3 separate regions of the Homo sapiens genome follow, and regions 1 and 2 are each linked to region 3. Evidence: promoter capture Hi-C in human tissues and cell types (Jung and others, 2019). All regions are on one chromosome and are shown on one strand. Each heading gives the region's core, a stretch centred on a gene start or on the middle of the fragment in contact. The rest is flanking DNA. Distances are from core to core; before and after follow the strand shown.

What was found. The method cuts DNA at HindIII sites, captures the fragments that hold promoters and counts their contacts. A contact is called where the count stands out against the background at its distance.
Region 1: a contact is called between a fragment that was not itself captured here and the fragment with the promoter of ARFGAP3 in region 3, in 1 of the 25 tissues and cell types used here (heart right ventricle).
Region 2: a contact is called between the fragment with the promoter of A4GALT here and the fragment with the promoter of ARFGAP3 in region 3, in 2 of the 25 tissues and cell types used here (lymphoblastoid cells and spleen).

What each region holds. Positions count from the first base shown.
Region 1 is chr22:42,602,266-42,604,965 of GRCh38, forward strand. POLDIP3 (DNA polymerase delta interacting protein 3) reads right to left here. Exons shown (of 9, transcript NM_032311.5): 2 at 505-895. Among named protein-coding and RNA genes, the nearest start is that of POLDIP3, 11 kb to the right of the region's middle. RefSeq lists an enhancer at 1-232. The HindIII fragment of the contact is 5,402 bases long and covers 1-2,700 here.
Region 2 is chr22:42,719,579-42,722,278 of GRCh38, forward strand. It overlaps A4GALT (alpha 1,4-galactosyltransferase (P1PK blood group)), which reads right to left and starts at 1,292. Exons shown (of 3, transcript NM_017436.7): 1 at 1,219-1,292. RefSeq lists silencers at 732-861, 942-1,171, 1,202-1,391. The HindIII fragment of the contact is 38,593 bases long and covers 1-2,700 here.
Region 3 is chr22:42,855,857-42,858,556 of GRCh38, forward strand. ARFGAP3 (ARF GTPase activating protein 3) reads right to left here and starts at 1,417. Exons shown (of 16, transcript NM_014570.5): 1 at 1,258-1,417. The coding sequence starts at 1,326. RefSeq lists an enhancer at 576-1,420 and a silencer at 943-1,692. The HindIII fragment of the contact is 10,713 bases long and covers 1-2,700 here.

The DNA.
Region 1 (2,700 bases), core at 149-2,648, 250 kb before region 3:
ACTTGGCTCAGTAAATGTTTGCTGTGGCCGCTGCTGTTCCTATTACCAAAGCTGCTATGAAGGTTAAATGACATTGTTTCCTTTCCCTCTGTGGTGGCAGCTGTGAAGGGTGGCCAGGGCCTTGGACTAGGGGCCAAATCCCACTGGGCCTGGGGGTGGAGTGAGGACTGTAAGGTCACAGATATTAAGGGCCTGCCACATAGCATGTGCTCAATAAATCTTTTGTCCTTTCCTCTCTCTTTCTTCCACCAGTATCTCACCTGGGAAAGTCACCAAATTTCTATGGGCCTCCTTTTTCTTTTTTTTTAGAACTGAGATAATACCTTTCCTTCCTTGTATAGTTCCTTGGCTATAACGTACTTAAAGCCTCTGTAAGGAGCAAAGTCTGTATTATGCCAACACTTGAGAGGATAGTATTTTTGCCCAGTCACTCCTGGCACCTTGCCTCTAAATCTACCTTTGTTACTAGCTTTCTGGGAATTCATGACAAAAGCCACAACTCACCTGGATGGTTTTGGTGAGCTTCAGAGCAGGGGTCACTGTCCCAATGGGTGGGTTTATGAAGGCAGCAGGGGAACTCCTCTTCAAGCTGATCTTCTCCCGGGCATCAGCAACCTGGCGGGGCTTCTGGGGCACCGTGGTCTGCTGCTTGCGAGAGTTCAACATCTCTCTGGCATCCTGCACTTTCCCTTTGATTCGAAATCGGGCATCTTTCTGCAAAAGCTTCTCCCGGGCATCCTTGACTCCCAGTTTGAGCCGGGCATCTGAGAGGCCAATCTTCTGCCGGGCATCAAATCTCTGCTGGAAGGTGGCTGTGCGTGTTGACTGGCTGAGAAGGCCTTGCTGGATCCCAACTCGAGATCGGACACCTCCAACTCCCGGTCTGGCATTAAGCCTGTAAATATAAATTGCAATCAATATTAAGTGGATCTGGGTATCTACAGCAGTCTATGAAAGCGGAACTGTGGTAACACTGGGGACAGAGGAGGCCCTGGAGAATCAGAAAGCGGCTCCTTGCCTGTGATTGAATAAACGATTATGCCTACATGATGACTCCTTTCCTGGTTTCATGATGGCTTTTAACTTTGCATTTTAAGCAAAATTAAGAGAGAGGGGCTGGCAAGTTTTATTCCTAGTTAAGAGTGTTTTGCTTCCTAGACCACGTGTCTTGAGACACCAACATGGACAATAACTTCCCAACAATGCCAGTCAAATAAAATAAACATCCACCAAATCTAATCCCACTCATCTGAGGAGTAACTTTAGTTTCCAAGGCCCATCCCCATCCATGTTCTCACTCAGCCCTCTCAGCACCCTGAGAAGTACTTACTATGCCCACTTTACAGTGGGAGAAGCAGGTTTGGAGAGGCTCAATGATTAACAAAGAGTGTCTCTAAGGAAGGCAGACACCATCTACTGGGCTAAGACCAAGAGAGCAAACATATGGGTCTGGCTTAGAGCTAGAGGAAAACAGAAAACACAAAGACTTGGTAGGAAAGAAAGAAAAAATTGCAATAGCAAAAATATCAAATACAGAAACCACTGAAATTGGAAATGATCGGGTACAGGGTTCGCTATTTGGGTAATGGGTACACTAGAAACCTAATCCTCACCAGTATGCAATATAATCCATGGAACAAACATGTACATGTACCCCCTGAATTTAAAATAAAATATTTTTTTTAACTGGAAATGAATGAAACTCCATAAACAGGCCCCGGTCTCTTTCTTGGGTTCCTCTGTTGGCCTACAGTGGCTTGAAAGTGAACAGAAGGCCCTCCTGAGTATAGCGCTGGAGATCCTCCCCAAGGTCTTTGGGCTTCTTCTGTCGCCTCCCACCCTCAGGCCTCTCTACAATAGCTACCCTCAACGGCCACTCATGCGGCAGACGCTCTGCCTGCGGACTCCTATGTCAAGGGGTGCTCTTTGGGAAACCCTCCCGGATTTCTCCAGGCCAACTCTCCTCTGTGCCTATTATTATACCTGCTTGTTTCCTTTTTTCTCTCCCTACCCTGGGTGGGGCGGGGGGAGGAGAATGGGGTTCAGTCCTTTTGCAGGGCCCAGCACCTCCTAAGCAGCATCGAGCCCTGGCTGAGTGTCAGAAACTCCTGTGGAGCTTCTTAAATACAGAGCTGTCCAGATCCCACCCTAGATGCTGAATCCAAAATCTGGGGCGAGGCCTGGCCATCTGCATTTTTAACTCCATGGGTGATTCTGGAGAAGAGCCATGTTGAGGATCTCTGACCTGCTGTTAGAGGGTAAACTCTGCTGCATAAACGAGTTCCTGTATTGCCTCCCACTTCACTGCCTGGACCTCCCAGGAGGCATCTCTCATACTGGGTCAGTCACTGGCACTCTCCCACTGCTGCATTCCAGTGGCTGGAGTGAGATTGGCTGTCAGTTCCTCTGCTAATGAATACCAGAAGTGCAGCCAAAGGTGAGTCTACCTGGTACCAATAAAAGCAAACGTGGACCTTCATCTTGTTATCCCTCAAATAATGGAAAAACACCTGCTGCCTCCAATATGCCAGTACCAAACCTAAGGCGGTAATACAGACTGAACATCTGTGTCCCCCCAAAATTCCTCTGTTGAAGCCTAATCTGCAATGTGATGGTGGTAGAAGGTGGTGGCCTTTGGGAAGTGATTAAGTCATGAGGACAGAGACTTCACAAATGGGATTAGTGCCCTTTATAAGGAAG
Region 2 (2,700 bases), core at 42-2,541, 140 kb before region 3:
TGGAAACACAGTGTAGCAGGGTTTCGGGTCCTGGAGAAGGTTTGAGGCTGGAAGAGGGCTGTGGGAAATCTTGAGGGAGGCCTGGCTCCATCCGCACTCTGCTATGGGACCCTGGGCAGGGTGGCTCCCTCATTCTTTGGGAGGAGGTGACAAAGGGGAAGTCTTTGGGCAGCTGGTGGCGGGAACGGGAAGGCCAGACCTGGCCTGAGACCCACCAGGTGCTCGGGGTTATTTGCTGAGTGCAGGGTACGTGACCCCAAGGGGCCTTCGCGGAACAATCACTCGACGTTGGCGGAGGGGAGGAAGCCGCAGAGAGGGTGTCGTGAGGGAAAGGTGGGTGCAGGGGAAATGGCGCTTTAACCCACTCAGGGCCAGAGGCTCAGCCGAGACTATCCAGGTGGGAACTTGTCCCTCCGGATGACAGGTGATGAAACTGAGGGAAGGGGACTCGCCCTGGCAGTGAAACGGGATGGGCGCTGGGACCAGGTGCCCCGGCAGATCCTCTCCCAAGCCCAGTTCCGCTCCCGCTCAGTCCTCAACCTTCCCCAGCTGGAGAGGAGGGAGGGGCGCCTGCGGATCCGAGGCGAGCGCGGAGGCCGGGCGACTCCAACCGGCTCGCCCCGTGCCCAGCTCGTACCCAGGCCGTTTCCCGCACGGGGAGGGCCCTTCCCGCTTCTGGGCAGGTCCAAATCCTCACCCTCCCTAAGGCCGGCGCCGACGCTGCCAGCCCGGCAGAGCCCCCTCCTGCCGGCCGCTCTCCATCCCCGTCCCCGGTCGCATCCGCTCCGGGGCGAGCACCGCCCGACGCCCAGGCTTCCCCCGGACGGAGGAGCGCGACTCACCCACGGTGGCCGGGCAGAGCCTGCCTCGAACCCGGCTTCTCCCCGACGCCCTCTCTCCAGCCCCGGGACCCAACCGGGTGGGGCTGCCCTCGAGGGCTCCGGAGCCAGGCGCGTCCTGCCCGCGAGGGCCGGGGCTCCGGGTCCCGCCGCCGCGCTCCACTTCGGGGCGCAGTTGGGGTGGAGGCGGTGGCCGGGACCGCCGCGCGGGGTTCGTGCGCGCACAAATGTCGCCTCCAGAACAGGTGGCCCGGGCTAGGGCGGCGGCCCAGCCCCTCCGCCCCTGCCCCTGCCTTCCCGAGGCGCCTCCTCCCCACTGCGAGCCGCAGGATCCCCCTGGAGCCCCCGTCCCCCGCAACATCGGCGCGGCCCCTCGTACCTCTAGCTCCAGCGGCGGCGGGCGGCGGACAGCGGGGCCCCGGCGGGCGGGCGGCGCGGCGGCCGGAGGGCAGTGCCTGGGGCCCGGCGGGAGGCAGCACCGCCCCTCCGGCCCGGGGCGGGGTCAGGCCGCCCCGCCCCGCCCGTCCCGACCTACCCTGCGGGTCCCGGTCCCCAGAGCCCTTGCGGGGTCCCCGCGACCCCGCCCGCGCGCCCTCGCTGCTCCCCGGGGCGGGTGCGGACAGTCCCCAGTCCGCCGGCCAACAGGTAGGGAGCGCTCCCCGGCCTCCGCGCCGCCAGTATTACGGGTTACCATCCCGTTTTCCCCATTGAACTGATGAGAAAACTGAGGTTCAGAGGGTTGAGTACCTCGATATTCTGCAGTGGAGAAGGGACGCTGTCACCCCTGGGACCCGGGTCGGCCTGATCCCACCGCCTCCTGCCGGGACCGTGCTAAGGGCATTGCCTGCATCACCCCAGTGTTTGCGGAATTCCAGTTATTTGCTGTATCCTTAACGCCGCCCCGTCCTTTCTCTACTCCTCCTCCTCACTCTCACCTCGCCCCATCTTCACACATATTGCTATTGGTAATTTGTTCAATGTGAGAAATTGGAATGTATCACACACAATTCGTGTATCATAAAACTGTATTTTATTCTCTTTGGAACATGCCATGTTTCCAGCATGTCACAGTCCTGGTGCTTTTAGTTCTTACTCCTCTGGGACAACAAAGACTGCAAAAAATGAAACCATTGGGTGACTTCTTGAGTGCTGACGCCCATCCTCTCACTCAGCTGATGACCCAGTGCCCAAGCCACTGAGAAAATGGAACCTCTATCCTAGCCCTGAGAAAGAGCCTGGCACTCAATGGGTGCCCAATAAATACACTTCGAATGAAGGAATCAGTAGAAAATTCCCACCAGCTCCCCCACCCACCCGCTGAGGTAGCACCCAGTCCCTTCCCTCTTGGGACCGGGCTGAACCCGTCCAGCTCCTGGCCACGACCACCCCCTCCAGAAGATCCCGACCCTTCACGCCAACACTGATCCCGAAACCCTGCCCTCTCTCCATTCTCCCTGGGTCATTCCCATCACAGGCTGTTACTTCTCCCATCTTAAAACGGAAACAAGAGGCCAGGCAAGCACTCACGCCTGTAATCCCAGCACTTTGGGAGGCCAAAGCAAGCAGGTCACCTGAGATCAGAAGTTCAAGACCAGCCTGGCCAACATGGTGAAACTCCATCTCTACAAAATACAAAAATTAGCTGGACATGCTCACTTGAACCCAGGAGGTGGAGGTTGCAGTGAGCCTAGATCATGCCACTGCACTCCAGCCTGGGTGACAAGAGCCAGACTCTGTCTCAAAAAAAAAAAAAAAAAAAAAAAAAAAAAGAATGAATGCGGACCCTTTCTCCACTGGTAATACTCATTTTTTTTTTTTTTTTTTTTTTTTTTTGAGAAGAGACTCACTCTGTTACCTAGGC
Region 3 (2,700 bases), core at 167-2,666:
AAAAATTAATTAATTAATTAATTAATAATAACAATTAGCTGGGCGTGGTGGTACAGCCCTGTGGTGTCAGCCTCATCAGGAGGCTGGGAAGGAAGGATGGCTTGGGCTGGGTAGGTCAAGGCTGCAGTGAGCTAGGATCAAGGCACTACACTTCAGCCTGGGTGACGGGGTGAGACCCTGTCTCTAAAAAAATAAATAAATAAAAATGTGAAAATCAAGAGAACAGTAAAGAAACGGGCACTGGAGAATTCCTGGAGCCTTTCTCTTAACTTTCCCACATCCATCAGACATCACCTCCAATAAACTGTTTCCTTCCTCACCTAGGCTGGAAAAAATATGGGCTCCCCTGTACCATCAAGACTTAAAACCAACAGAAACACCTATTTTGTAACACTCGGGAACTTTCTATGCCAGCATATCGAGGTTCAATAACAGCTGTTCCCTTCGGGAAGTGACAGTGGGAACCAGACAACACTCGTGTCACAGGAGGGGCGGGGAGAGCCCACGCTGACGCGACAGCCCTTTGCACTCTCCAAGTCCCTCTCCGACCCGACGTGTCACCTTAGCCCCCTGCGTCACCCCAACGCCTCCAGCCAGCTGCGCAAAGCTGTAAAAGTTCCAGGGAGAGAACAGCCTCTGGAGACAAAAAAAAAAAGGAAACCTCCATCTCCAAAGAGAACCGAGGAGAGGGAGGAGGCTGTGGTGAGCCTCCCTGGCCAAAGCGACAAAAGCTGGAAGCCAAAGCGTAGACTACTCGGCAACTTTATCAGAAGAGAAACTGAGGCAGGCACCGCAAGGCCCGAGGAGCCAAGCCGGCTCCAACAGGCGGGGTCGAGCTCCAGGGTGGCGCTGGGGGAGCCGCGCTTTCCCCGCATCCGGCGCCAGCAGCCGGGGTTTCCGAGCCGGGAGCTCCCTCCTCGCAGCGCCCCCGAGGATGCCCCCGCCCCCGCCTCCGCTCAGAGCCGCCGGTGCTCGCCCCCCGCCCCAAGAGCTCGCCGGGGGGTGTGCCCGCGCCGCCGCCCCCGGGAACGCTCCCCGGCTCGCGTGAGGACCCCCGCGCTGCGGCCTCCCGCCCGGGCCTCTCAGCTGCCCGGCCCCGCCCGCCCCGGCCCGGCCAGGCTGCCGCGGCCCCACAGTGCGACGTGTCACAGGCCGCGCCGGCCCCGCCTCCCAAGCCACGGGCACTGGCGCCCGCGGGGCCTCCCGCCGGTTCCCGCAGGGATGCCAGGCAGGCCCGCACTCGCCCGCGGCCGCTACCTTGTTAGTGGGCACCGAGCGGAGGCGCTTGAAGATGGTCAAGATGTCCTGCTTGCTGGGGTCCCCCATCGTCAGCTGTGAGCCGCGGCGCAGCTGGCCCAGCCAACCGGTAAGAGTCGACGAAAAGCGGCTACCGCCTCAGCAGGAGCGACGAGGCCGCGGGGGCGGGGCTGCGCGTAACGGTCAGGCTCCGCCCCAATCCCCGCCCACGACCGGGCCCGTCCACCGCCGGGGCGCAGGCGCCGCTCGCTTTCCCTCCCCGCCCTCGCTTCAGCCGCGCCGCTGGCCCGACCCCAGGCGCTGCACGCGCGTGCGCAGGAGGCTCGCGCGCCATTTGCGGCGCGGCTCCACGCCCTTAGCGCTGGGCGAAGCCGGGCCCGGGTGTGGCTGCCTGCCACGCGCGCTGCCATAGGATCCACCAACGTTTCGCCTGGTCGATCGCCATTTCGCCTAACGGGCTGCTTCCATGGAAAGGTCAGAGGCAGGGGAAGGGGCGCACGCGCCCTCCTTCGGCACGAGACGGACGGAGGGCCCGTGCCTTGACGCCGGACCTTAGCTGGTGGCCTTCCCTTTTTTTTTTTTTTTTTTTGAGACGGAGCCTCGCTCTGTCCCCCAGGCTGGAGTGTAATGGCGCGATTGCGGCTCCTTGCAACCTCCCTGGTTCAAGCGATTCTCCTGCCTCAGCCTCCCGAGTAGGTGGGATTACAGGCGTACATCACCACGCCCGGCTAATTTTTGTATTTTTAGTAGAGACCAGGGTTTCACCATGTTGCCCAGGCTGGTCTCGAACTCCTGACTTCAGGTGATCCACCCACTTCGGCCTTCCAAATTGCTGGGATTACAGACGTGAGCCGCCGCGCCCGACTCTTTTTAATTCTTGCCCTCAGCTCACGCCAGGCCCTGGGTGGAAAGCTTTCTTTGCCCGGAAACTGGCTTTCTGAAACCAAGGGCTTTTGTGTCACGTTCATGGAGAGATGGCAGTGCGGGTTGAGGCAGAAGTGCTCAGTCAGAACTGATGAGTCCAGATGAGAAGCTTGACTTTTAACCCCGGCCCTCGGGGCTGCACCCTACCCTCTGGGAAACAATTCCAGCCAGAAGAGTTTACACTCAGCAGAAGGTGCCTCTGTCACCACAATGGGTGTGGAGCCACTGGAAAGAGGTTGGGTGATAGTGAGGAAGGACAGCAGGTTTTGGCATCAAAGGCACTACCTTGGCCTCAATCCCAGTTCAGCCAGCTGCTTCCTAGCTCTGTGGCCTTGGTCAAGACACTTACCTTCTCTAAAGCATGGTTTATTTGCAGTCTCAGGGGCTCATGCCTGTGATCCCAGCACTTTGGGAGGCTGAGGCGGGAGGATCACTTGAGCTCAGGAGTTCAAGACCAGACTGGATAATATGGTGAAACCCCGTCTCTATAAAAAAATGCAAAAATTAGCCGGGCATGCT